Regions from separate parts of the Homo sapiens genome. Here region 2 is linked to region 1. The links are contacts of gene promoters, found by promoter capture Hi-C in human tissues and cell types (Jung and others, 2019). All regions are on one chromosome and are shown on one strand. Each heading gives the region's core, a stretch centred on a gene start or on the middle of the fragment in contact. The rest is flanking DNA. Distances are from core to core; before and after follow the strand shown.

The links. The method cuts DNA at HindIII sites, captures the fragments that hold promoters and counts their contacts. A contact is called where the count stands out against the background at its distance.
Region 2: a fragment that was not itself captured here is called in contact with the fragment with the promoter of RPUSD3 in region 1 in 2 of the 25 tissues and cell types used here (adrenal gland and heart left ventricle).

The regions. Positions count from the first base shown.
Region 1 is chr3:9,840,816-9,847,020 of GRCh38, forward strand. It overlaps RPUSD3 (RNA pseudouridine synthase D3), which reads right to left and starts at 3,193. Exons shown (of 9, transcript NM_173659.5): 1 at 3,075-3,193; 2 at 2,650-2,786; 3 at 1,384-1,428; 4 at 1,168-1,267. The coding sequence starts at 3,175. RefSeq lists an enhancer at 3,056-3,135. The HindIII fragment of the contact is 13,991 bases long and covers 1-6,205 here.
Region 2 is chr3:9,496,338-9,502,542 of GRCh38, forward strand. It overlaps LHFPL4 (LHFPL tetraspan subfamily member 4), which reads right to left. Exons shown (of 4, transcript NM_198560.3): 4 at 2,024-5,974. The coding sequence ends at 5,874. Among named protein-coding and RNA genes, the nearest start is that of LHFPL4, 54 kb to the right of the region's middle. RefSeq lists an enhancer at 4,989-5,714. The HindIII fragment of the contact is 7,926 bases long and covers 1-6,205 here.

The DNA of each region.
Region 1 (6,205 bases), core at 1,943-4,442:
CAGACAAATCACACAAGTTAAAGTCCCTTGAACTCGCCCACTAAAAAGGAAACTCTTAGGAACACTGACCTGCTTCAGGCCAAACACTAACACCAGGACTATAACCTAGACCAACTCCTGAGAAACAAGTAAGGTTTCCCCTTCTTTGATAACAAGACTATGTAGCTTAATGTGTTTCTCATTTTGCCCCGGCCCCCAGGGAACTCAGAGCCAAATGTCGTAACGATTGTCTACCATGTGCCAGAATTCTACTAGAAATTCTGTACATATTAGCTCTTAAATAAGTTCTCTACAAAAAAGCTCATGAGTTTGTGGAACTGCAGAAATATTTCATCTCAAGTACCATCTTTAATTGATGGCAGTTAGAGGAAAGAGTATCATGGATCGACTAGCAATGCCTGCCACGAGTACCGTCATGGAGAAATGACTGCACACTGAGCATAGGTATTATTTTCTCTATTTTACCATTAGGGGAACTGAAGCTCAGGGAGGGTATTTGTTTTGTTTTGTTTTTTTGAGACGGGGTCTCATTCAGGTTGTTTAGGCTTGCGTACAGTGGCGGGATCTCAGCTTATTGCAGCTGCCATCTTCTGAGCTCAGGTGATTCTCCCATCTCAGCCACCCGAGCACTACAGGCATGTGCTGCTCTGCCCAGCTAGGTTTTTGTGTGTGTGTGTGTGTGTGTTTTATTTTGTTTTTTAAGTAAAGATAGGGTTTTGCCATGTTGCCCAGGCTGGTCTTGAACTTCTGGACTCAAGCAATCCTCCCACCTCGGCCTCCCAAAGTCCTATTGATTATAGGCATGAGCCACCACGCGGAAAGTTTTGTTGTTGTTTTTCCAGAGATGGGGTCTATTTTGCCCAGGCTGGTCTCGAACTCCTGGGCTCAAGTGATCCTCTTGCCTTGGCCTCCAGAAGTGTTGGGATTACAGGTGTGAGTCACTGTGCCCAGCGTCAGGGAGGTGTCATGCTTTGCCTGGTATCACACCATTTGTACTTGAGGATTTGAACCCAGAGCCATCGGCTTCCTCTTCTTCACAGTACTTGTATCCACCTCTATGATCTCAAACCTTCCCATGGAAAATGTCTCAGCTTATCCCCAAGCAGCTGTTTCCCCACCACAGATGGATGCCTGTACTCCTAGCTTCCTGTCACCCCTACCACTTACTTCCCAGATGCTCGGACAACCTGAAGCTCCTGCTCCCTGAGCCCTAGGGACTGGCTCAGCTCTGGCAGCACTGAGAACAACGTCAGCTCTCCTGGTTTTCCTGGAAAGTAAGAAAGAAAAATTACAAGAGGCCAAAGCTTCATGCCTTCACTTTTCCCTCCCTCAGTCACGAAACCCCCTTCCGCTGCATTCCCTTCCCACATCCCCGGCCCATACCTGTCACTGGTAGACCCTGTGGCTTGTTCAACGTCACTAGAGGTCCTGAAACATACATCACACGAACATCAGCAAAAGCAACGGTAACCCTTTATGCAGCACTAAAGAGTTTCCAGAGCACTTTCTCACGCATCTTAGCACATGTCCCCATCATGACTCTCAGACATGAGTTAACTACCCCACACCAAATTCAACTTCTTTCTGTTCCTCTGCCACCTCAGAGCCTCGGCACTTGCTGTTTCCTGTCCCCAAATTTCCCAGGTCTGGCTCCCTATCATCTTGGCTCAAATGTCACATCACGGAGAGGTCTGAATCTCCAATCTAATGTCTGCCTTCCTCCTGCAGTTCCTCACCATCATAACACCCTGTTTTAGTTTATGCATAGCACTTACCACTAGTAACTTGTTCATTTATTTTCTGACATCCATTTCTCCCGTTAGAGAGAAATCCATTTCTCCCCTGAGAGCAGAAACCATATCTATCTTTTTCAGCACTGTATAGCCTGCCTAGAACAGTGCCTGGAACATAGCATATGTTCAAGAAATAGTTGAGAAAAGGAATAAATCACTGAATAGAGAGTGGGGTTCAGAGAAATTCAGTTATTTTCCTAAAGCCGCACAGCAAGCTGATCACAGAGCCTAGGTATGTCTGACTCCAAAGCCTGTGTTTTGTCCGTCGATAAATAATCATTATTTATTTATTTATTTATTTAGACTGAGTCTTGCTCTGTCATCCCAGGCTGGAGCGCAGTAGCACGATGTCGGCTCACTGCAACCTCTGCTATCCGGGTTCAAGTGACTCTCCTGCCTCAGCCTCCCGAGTAGCTGGGATTACAGGCGGACGCCGCCACACCTGGCTAATTTTTGTGTTTTTAGTAGAGACGGGGTTTCACCATGTTGGCCAGGCTAGTCTCGAACTCCTGACCTCAGGTGATCCGCCCGCGTCAGCACCCTAAAGTGCCGGGATTACAGGCGTGAGCCACCGCGGCCAATAAACAATAATCTAGTATAGCAACTCCCGTAACTGAGCGCCGGCTATGTGCAAGGCTCGGTAGTTATTTGCATCTTCTCCCCACTCTTAACCCTACTGCATCATGGCAGTAGGGTTAAAAGCGGGGAGAGGGTGCAAATTAGGTGGCTTGTCCCAGCTCATGCTGCTAGTGGGAGGCAGAAGCAGGGCTGATCCCGTGGCTTCAATGGAGAGCCCAACTGCACGCCGAGGCAGTCCCCTCCCGGTCCTTGTGCGGCCGTGCCTCTCACCCCTCACCTTTCCGGTCCACCACGGCTGCCCGCAGCGCATCAACCAGCTCCTCCCGACTGAGGTTTTTTGGCAGCAGCCCCGCGAAGGGCTGGTCCCCGAGGGGCCCCGACCGTTGGCAGGAGCCGCGGGGTTGCCTCTGATGCCTGGACAAGGAGGGAGAAGCAATGGGAGTCATTCCATCCCGAGGTGCCACCCATTCCTATCTCCGGACGCCTCTTCCCAAATCCTGCGGCCTCTGACAAATGCCTCACAATGTCTGGGCTGACCTCGAAAATTCAGGTACGACCGGTCCCATTCTACAGCGGAGGGCACCGAGGCTCAGAGAGGCCAACGGGGCTGTTTTCGGGTAACATCTACCTGATCCAGATCCCGCACGTGCCTTCCCCCTGCCCTAGCCTCCGTCCCGCATGAGAGAGGGGGTACTTAATCACCGGGCTTCGGTGCCAAAGCCTGCGTCCTCGGGCACTGGGCGGACACCCAGGCCCCGCCGCCAGCCACTCCAGAACCGGCCCAAAACACGGCGGCCGTCCATCTCCCGAGCCAGGACAGCGCGCATGTGCGTCCAGAGGGGCAGACCCGCGCTCCAGCCAGCGCGCTGATTGGTCAGCTGGAGTGTCAATCGGAATGGTGACCGGGCGGGACTCAGAGCCTGAGGAGGCGGGGCTTTTCCTCCGCCCAGGAAGGAAATGCAGAAATGCCTTCCTATGCTTTTAGGGAGAGCGCTGTAGCAGAAGAATTTGATCTGATCAAAAAACCTGTCTTAGCAAAAAACCTGAAGCCGCCTTTGCAAAAATTATATTACAAAATTATGACAGCGAAAGAGATCTGATCTAACCAACCCGCAGCTTGCCTTTAACCTCTAAACGGTCCTTGGTCATTCCTGGGCTTGGGCCAAGCTAACTTTGGGAGAAATTAGTTCGTAGTCTAAATGATAATTGCCCTTCCCCCGAACTAAACTGGCTTCATAGAGTTAATGAAAGGCCACCAGGTTAGGAGTAGTAGAGGGACCTGAATTCTGCTAAGGGTTAGAGGTAACTGATTACCAGCGGTTATTCCGGAGGTCACAGTGTTTGCAGCTTCCCCAGCTCACGATTGTCCAACCTGAGATTGGCCTTTGGAGATGTCTTTCCAGGCTTTTGCATTTCTGACGGCCGGATCACCCCACCCGGACCCTCAACTCTTGGCTCTACTAGTCCTGTGGCCCCTCGAAGTCAGGAGATCGAGACCATCCTGGCTAACACGGTGAAACCACGTCTCCACCAAAAATACAAAAAAATTAGCCGGGCGTGGTGGCGGGCGCCTGTAGTCCCAGCTACTCGGGAGGCTGAGGCAGGAGAATGGCGTGAACCCGGGAGGCGGAGTTTGCAGTGAGCCGAGATCGTGCCACTGCACTCCAGCCTGGGCGACGAGCGAGACTCCGTCTCAAAAAAAAAAAAAAAAGAAAAAAGAAAAAGAAAGTAGAAGAACACAGAAAAAAAAGAATAATATAATGACTGCCCACATTCCTACCATCAGAATTAGTCATTGTGAAACAATATATATATGTATAGGTTTCCTGTTTTTCTTGTTTAAGAAATGAAAGGGATAAAAGTAAATTCCCCTTTACTGCGTGCTTCCAGTTTTCACTCCCTCCCCAGTCTCCACTTTGAGTTTGGTGTGAACATTTTCCTAATGTGTTTTGGTTTTTGTTTTTTGGAGACAGAGTCTCGCTCTGTCACCCAGGCTAGAGTGCAGTGGCCCGATCTCGACTCACTGCAACTTCCACCTCCCGGGTTCAAGCGATTCCCCTGCCTTTGCCTCCTGAGTAGCTGGAATTACAGGTGCGGTGCCCGCCACCACACCCGGCTAATTTTTTGTATTTTAGTGACGGGGTTTCACCATGTCGCCCAGGCTGGTCTCGAACTCCTGAGCTCAGGCAATCCGCCCGCCTTGGCCTCCCAAAGTGCTAGGATTACAGACGTGAGCCACTGTGCCCGGCCACTAATGTGTTTTTTTGCTTGCTCTGTCATCCAGGCTGGAGTGCAGTGGCACAATCACAGCTCACTGCAGCCTCAACCTCCCAGGCTCAAACGATCCTCCCACTTCAGTCTCCTGAATAGCTGGGACTACAGGTGTGCACCACCATACCTAGCTTTTTTTTTTTTTTTTTTTTTTTTTAAAGATATGGGGTCTCACGATGTTGCCCAGGCTGGTCTCAAACTCCTGGGCTCAAGATAAGAAAATAAAAATAACAAAATAATTTTTAAAAAATCAAACTCCTGGGTTTAAGGGATTCACCCACCTACTTCGGCCTCCCAGAGTGCTGGGATTAAAGGCCGCACGGGGCCTTTGACAGACACTTCTTTTTTTTTTTCCTTCGAGATGGAGTCTCACTCTGTCACCCGGGCTGGAGTTCAGTGGCACGATCTTGGCTCACTGCAACCTCTGCCTCCTGGGTTCAAGCAATTCTCCTGCCCCAGCCTCCCAAGTAGCTGATACTACAGGCATGCACCATCATACCTGCCTAATTTTTTGTATTTTTTAGTAGAGATGGGGTTTCACCATGTTGACCAGGCTGGTCTCAAACTCCCGACCTCAGGTGATCCACCTGCCTCAGCCTCCCAAAGTGTTGGGATTACAGGTGTGAGCCACCGTGCCCGGCCTTTGACGGACACTTTCTAATAGGCTTTTTCATCCAGCATTACACACCCCTATGAGGAAGGCAGGGTGGGTTGGGGCCCTGCCTTACAGATGAGGACACAGTGGCTGTTGTGGTTCTTTGTGTCCCTTAAAGGCATGCCAAAAGCTATGGGTGGGCTCAGAATGCCCCGGAAGGAAGTCAGATAACTGAAAAGAACACTTGCACTGGTCACAGGAAAACCAGCCTGAGCTGCCGGCAGCCTCTGGGAGGTGTTGGGATGGCCTGCCCCTGGTTTCCATGCGGGTCCTGACCCAGAGAGCAGGCCCCAGGGGAGTGGGGGTCAGCAGAGGCAGGATGGGGCCCGGTCTGCTTGTGAGGGAGTGCTGGGAGGGTGGAGTCTCACTCTTGAGGCACAGAGCTCAGCCAGCGGAAGAGGGGATGCAGGGATCAAGCCCCAGGCCCTGGGGCCTGAGGTGTGAGAGCTGTCTTTGATGGTTGAAGCCAGCCTTCCCAGGCCAGGCCAGGCCAGGCTGCTCTCTCTCCCCGAGGATGCATTTCTTGCTCTGTTATCAGCCCTGAGCTCTGAGAGAAGGGACTTTCTTTTTTTTTTTTTGAGACAGAGTCTTGCTCTGTTGCCCAGGCTGGAGTACAATGGCGTGATCTCGGCTCGCTACAACCTCTGCCTTCTGGGTTGAAGCGATTCTCTAGCTGCAGCCTCCCAAGTAACAGAGATTACAGGCGCCTGCCACCACACCCTGCTAAGTTTTGTATTTTCAGTAGAGAAAGGGGTTCACCATGTTGACCAAGCTGGTCTTGAACTCCTGGCCTCAAGTTATCCACCCGACTCGGCCTCCTAAAGTGCTGGGATTACTGTCATGAGCCACTGAACCTGGCCAGGAGGGACTTTCTTAAGAAGGTCACAAGAGGACTCAGCACCTGCCA
Region 2 (6,205 bases), core at 2,664-5,163, 340 kb before region 1:
CAGCCTGGGTGACAGAGCAAGACCCTGTCTCAAAAAAATAAAAATAAATTATGCAGGCCAGGTGCAGTGGCTTATGCCTGCAATCCCAGCACTTTGGGAGGCTGAGGCGGGTGGATCACTTGAGACCCGGAGTTTGAGACCAGCCTGGCCAACATGGTGAAATCCCATGTCTACTAAAAATACAAAAATTAGCCGGGTGTGGTGGTGCACACCTGTAATCTCAGCTACTCAGGAGGCTGAGGCAGGAGAATCACTTGAATCAGGGAGGCTGAGGTTGCAGTGAGCTGAGATTGTGCCACTGCACTGCAGCCTGGGCAACAGAGGGAGACTCCATCTCAAAATAAATAAATAAAACAAATGATGCAGTCTCAGGTATGGCTTTATAACAATGCAGAAATGGGCTAACAGTCTACCCCTAATCCAGCCCCCTAATGCTACCACCAGAGTGCTCTTTCTAAAATGCAAATTGAGTCATTTTTCCTTCTGCTTCAAATCCTTCAGTGGTTCCCCATTGCTCTTAAGTCCAAACTCCTGTCCATGGCCCCCAAGCTTTCTCATGGTCTGGCCCTCGCCTGTCTCTCTAGACTCATCTCTGACTCCTCCCTGCCTCGTACTTCACATTTCAAACTAAGTTGCTTTTCGTCCTCCATACACAGTTCTGCTGCCTACCTCAGTCTTTTTCCTCAAGCTGCCTTCTCTTTGACCTTCCTGACCCCTCCTGCCTAACTTCTCATCCTACAGCAAGACCTCCTCCTACGCTGCCCACGTCACCAAAAGCCATTTAAAGTATTCCTGCCTAGGATACCCACAATACCCTGCATGTGGCAAGTCATGCGTTATTTTCACATGTTCATCTCCCCAACCAGAATTATGCTTAAGACAGCATCTCTGTTTTGCTCATTTTTTTTCTAGCTTAAGTGCTTAGCATACACTAAGTGCTTAAAATGTGTTGGAAGAGGACTCCATTTCCAAGTCTTCAATGTAGCTACCTGGTACTGCGCACATTACAGCGTGCCAGATACCCTGCAGAGCAAAGTGCATATATTCCCTGGTATGTTGCTTACAGCTTCCCTTGGGGGAGTCACTATTGTTTTCTCTATTTATTCAATGGGGCTTTAGAGAGAGGCAAAGTGACTGGACTGAGCACTCTGGCTAGAGCAGATGAGGCTCTACTCTTTTCTGCCTGTATGGACTTGGACAAGTCGTGCCTGTGCTGTCAGAGGTGTGCAGAGATTACTGTATCCCTCTCTCTATTCACTCCTTTCTCCTTTGTATCAGAACCCTATTTTTTTTTTTTTTTGAGACGGAGTCTTGCTCTGTTGCCCAGGCTGGAGTGCAATGGCGCCATCCCACCTCCCTGCGACCTCCGCCTCCTGGGTTCAAGCAATTCTCCTGCCTCAGCCTCCTGAGTATCTGGGATTACAGGCACGCACCACCATGCCTGGCTAATTTTTGTATTTTTAGTAGAGACAGGGTTTTGCCATGTTGACCAGGCTGGTCTCAAACTCCTGACCTCAGGTGATCCACCCACCTCAGCCTCTGAAAATGCTGGGATTACAGGCATGAGCCACCTTGCCCGGCCAAGAACCCCAGTTTTATTTGGGCTGGCAATGCGCCGAGATAACAGACCACACTTTTTCAGCCTCCTTTACTGTTATGTGGCCCAAGTGACACAGTCCTATGGAATTTCCAGAAGTCTTCAAATGAAATGTGGACCAGGTGACTGGAGCTCCAGCAGCCCACGTTGGGCCATGAGGTGTTCTTGAGGATGTAGCCAGGATTGAAAATGGCAGTGCAGAAAGATAGGAGCCTGGGTTCTGGATAACACTGAGAGCCATATCAGCCGTGATCTACCCACCTCCAGGCTTTTTTTTTTTTTTTTTTTTTTTTTAATGTGATGGTAAAATAAACTATCTTGTTAAGCCACAGTAGTAGGGTTCTGTTAATACCAGACAAACCTGATCCATAGGGTTGGAATCTTACCCCTCTTGATCCCAGTGACTCAGAGAAGTGGCAGCCAGCGTGGGTGATAGAAAGTGTTTCTTTATTTGAATGTCATTCCACCTGCACTGAAGCTTAAACCCAGCAGCAGCAGAAGGGGTCAGGACCAAAATAAATGTTACCAAATTAGACAATGAACAGCGAGGACACACTCAGACAAAACTTACTAATGGGGTATAGACAACACCAAGCTATCCTAACAGCACACAGCACAGGCCCTCGGAGGCCTGCCCATCAGAGCTCTGCGGAAGGCTCCCTTGTTCCCTGTTCAGGAAACTCCAGTCCCACCCAAAGGTTAGCCGTGGGCCAGGCAGGGGCCTGCAGAAGTTTCTGGTGCTGGGAACATCCCAGCTTCTCCAAAGACAGGGTTTCCCTTTCTCTTTCTCAGTTCACACTGGAAGCTGGAGAAAGGTTATTCCCCGTGTGCCCAAGCAGGATGCTCAAAAGGCCAGGGACTCTCCCCACAGCCTTATCTAAAAGTTCTCATCATCTTGGCTATCAGGCCTGAAAAGGATCTTGATTCTTTGGTCCTCACCCCCTCAGGAAAGTTTTCCTTCATGGGTACCGGTCCCCAAAGACGAAAGTTTTCATAGCCCCGGTTCCCAGAAGGACTCAACTGACCAGACTGTGGGCCAGGGACTGAACCACCCCTAGGCTGTGGCTGCCGTGGCCTCTCCTGAGTCCCCAGATCAGGCAGAGAAAAGCGGGCAATGGCAGACCCCTGATCACAGTTAGGGGGGTCACAGTTAGGGGGGGACTTCTCTTGGGACCTGAAGCCGGAAGGCTCTAGGTTGGAGCCCAACAAGGCCCTCCTGGGGTCAGAAACAGGCACTGATCTCCTCTGCTTACCTCCTCCTGAAGGCTAAAGCCAGATCGCCCGACGAGAGCAGAGGCAAACCACAAAGCCCCCTTCCCATGATGTCTTTATTGCCCCAGGAGGGCCATCAGGGCCTCACCTGGGGCCCCCACTGGAGCACCTGCCACCTGCCCCATCCACACCTCTGCAGAACCCAGGGCCCCAGTCTATGGTTTGGTCCCCACTCTGACTTCTACCCCTTGCCTGTGTCACCCTGGGGTTCCCGCAGACTTCAGCCCACACAACTCTGCCTTCCTGACTCCAAACTCCCTGGTGCATCTCCCCCTGGCTCTGCCAAGATGGCAGCTGGCCAGGTGCGGTGGAATGGGAATGTTGCCAGGCTACCCCACCAGGGAACTAGCCTCCCTCCTCTCCACCCGGCGCTGACCCACTCCTAAGTCAGCTGGACCCACTACGTCCTCTGAAGTGGCTTCCTTCACTCCAGTTCTTCCCAAAAGGATGCGGCCTTGGCTGCCTGTGCCCCGGGCCTCCAGCCTCTGAAAGGTCAGTTCTATCCCCCGCACCAGGGCACAGGTTTGGTGGGTGTCCTTGGGGAACAAGGTGTGGCAAGGACACCTGGTGGCAGGCGTCCTTGGGGGAACAAGCTCTCCCCTCACCCAGTGCCCAGATAGCAACCCCCTCCCCACTGCCCCGCATCCTGGCTCCTTCATCCTCCTCTCCTTCCTCTGCATCCCATTCTTGCCCCCAACCCACATCTCCATTTACCTCTTCCCCGCTCCCGAGTCCTTTTTCCGCCTTTTCATCCATTTCCCCTCCCCCACCCCAAGCTCTCGGGCAGCCTCTCAGCTGGTCTCTCATCTCTCTCCACCTCTGCCCCGTCTCTCTCGATCTCTCCTCCTCGCGCTGTTTCTCTGTGCCTGTGCGTCCCCCTCGCTCCTTCTCCAATCATCTCTCATCTCCCTGTCTCTGCACCCCTCTTCTCCTCACCCCAGTGTCTTCTCCCATTCCCAGTCGCTTGCTGCGCCCCTCCCCTCACTCTCTCCTAACTCTGCTCTCCCCCTCCAACGCTGGGCTTGGTTTGCATCTTTGAGGAACTCCCTCCTACCCCAACTCCCTCCCACGGGGCTCCCGCATCCTCCCGCATTTAACTCGGACCCTCTGTCCCGCAGCGCCCCTACCCCAGGCCGACTGGACTGTCCGGGAAGGCGCCGGCGGGGAAGGGGAGCCCAGCGCTGGGACCAGAGCACTGCGGGGAGGCTTTGCCCGGGAGGAGTAAGTGGAGGAGTGAAGTCGGGACTTGGTAAGTTCCAGGTGGCAGGAACCCACTAGGTCCCAACATCTGATTCCGGCTAGGGTCCAGAGTGGGGAGACAGGCAGGGGACTTCTAGGGTCTTTCTTGGAAACCCTAACTCTCAGGTCCAAGTCCTGTGGAAATGAACACAAGGTTGGCAAACACATGGCGCTCAAGCGACCCTCTCCCCTCCGCCGAGGCCCGAGGCGGCTTCCCCTGGCATCCTGCAGGGCACCGCCCCTTCCCTGCAGGTCCAGGCCGCCAGGAGGGGGCGCTGGACGAAGCCGGTCTGCACCAGCAACTAGTGCTGAGGGAGCTGTCCAGGCCCCAGGGCAGGGAGGCTCCCCGGGAGAGATGGCTCTGCCGCCAGACCCACAGGGGAATGACGGGTGTTCAAAAAATACCAGGAGTCTCCCTCACCTGCTCCCTGCCAAGGGGAAGGGAGACGCCCCCACAGTGGGTGGAGGGGGGAGAAACTTCTCACCTGTCCCCCAACACACACACACACACACACGCTCACACGCGCACACACACGCACACACATTTCACCCACATACACATACACTCATGCCTCGGCTCCAAGCACTGCCCATAGGTGCAGACCCTGGGCATATCGCAAGGCGAGAGGTGGGCCAGGAGGAGGAAGAGGCTGGGACAGGGTAACAAGGCTTAGGAAGGGGGACAGGGGTACCCTGTTCAGAGATGACCTGCAAGTTCAAGTTATGCAGAAAAGTATCAAAGAGACAAGACAGTCTCTGCCCTTGGTAGACGCCTGGGGTATGGAGGGCATGAAAAGGGGCAGAAGGGGTAATGCATCCCCCAACTCCCCACCTCTGGGGTCCCCTCCACACCCCCAACCCTGACAACAGGGCCAAGAAGTCTGTGCTGTACAAAACAGGCCAGGGTCAAGGGTCCAGTCATTGGTGAGACATCCCAGCAGAGAGGAGGCCTGGGCAAAAGAGGCCAAGGTCAAGGGCTCAGTCATCAGTGAGATGTTCCAGCAGAGAGGAAGAGGAGGCCAGGCCAGCCCGGGCTGAGCAGCTTCTAAGCTCCAACTGCCGAGGCCACGTACCCCCTCCCGCTACCTCCAGAGCCTGAAAGTCTTTTCTGACTCTGGGCTGATCAGGGCCCCGGTCTGCAGCTGACAGCAGGGCCCTGTGCATCCCTCGGTGCAGCTCTCCCTCAGGGTGAGCTGGGAGCAGGCCGGAATGGAGCAGAGGAGGTCCCAGGGGAGACTGGTGGCACCTGGAGCTTTGTGGCAGATGTGGTGGAACCAACATCAGCCAAAAAAGAAAAAAAAAAAAAGTAGGAAAGAGTCCAGCCCACCCTGGAGCAGTATCTAGAATAAATTTCTTGAAGAGGCAGGGACCAGAAGAGGTGCGGATACAGCCAGGCGGCAGCCCTCCAGACTGAGGGGGCCTGGGGAGCTGGAACTACAGCTCCGCTCTCCCTGGGGATCTGCAGGGACCTCCAGGCCAGTCTAGAGAGGAGAGGAGAAGCCCAAGGGCCTACGCAGATGCAGGCTCCCTTAGGTCAAATTGAGGGAGGAGCAAGAATTAGACCCTCCCAAGGTTTGGAGGGCCTCTCCTCTCCCCCAGGCCACATCCAGGCTTTCCTCTCCTCAAAGCCTGGAGCTTGCAGGGTAGTCGGTGAGAAGTAAGTCTGAGATCAGGGTCTTCCCTCAGAGCTTGAATGGAGTGACGAGAGGGCAGAAGGCAGGACAAGCTGAGGTCAGGCCAATTACTGGGCTGTGATCCTGGCCTTTCAGGGTCCCTGTGAGTGAGCCACGGGGCAGGGAAGGACTCCCCATCCAGAGACATCACCCCCGGGCCGCAACACGGAGCTTACTGTAGAGCCCACAAAATCTAAGAGAGAGAGAGAGAGAGAGAAGGAGAGAGAATTAGAGAAAGTCAGAGGCTGCCTGGGCATTCAGGCTTTCCTTGCACATTCCCCAGGGCACAAGTGGGCAGAGGGGCCGGGCGCGGTGGCTGACGCCTGTAATCCCAGCACTTTGGGAGGCTGAGGCGGGTGGATCACTTGAGGTCAGGAGTTCAAGACCAGCCTGATCAACATGGCACAACCCTGTCTTTACCAAA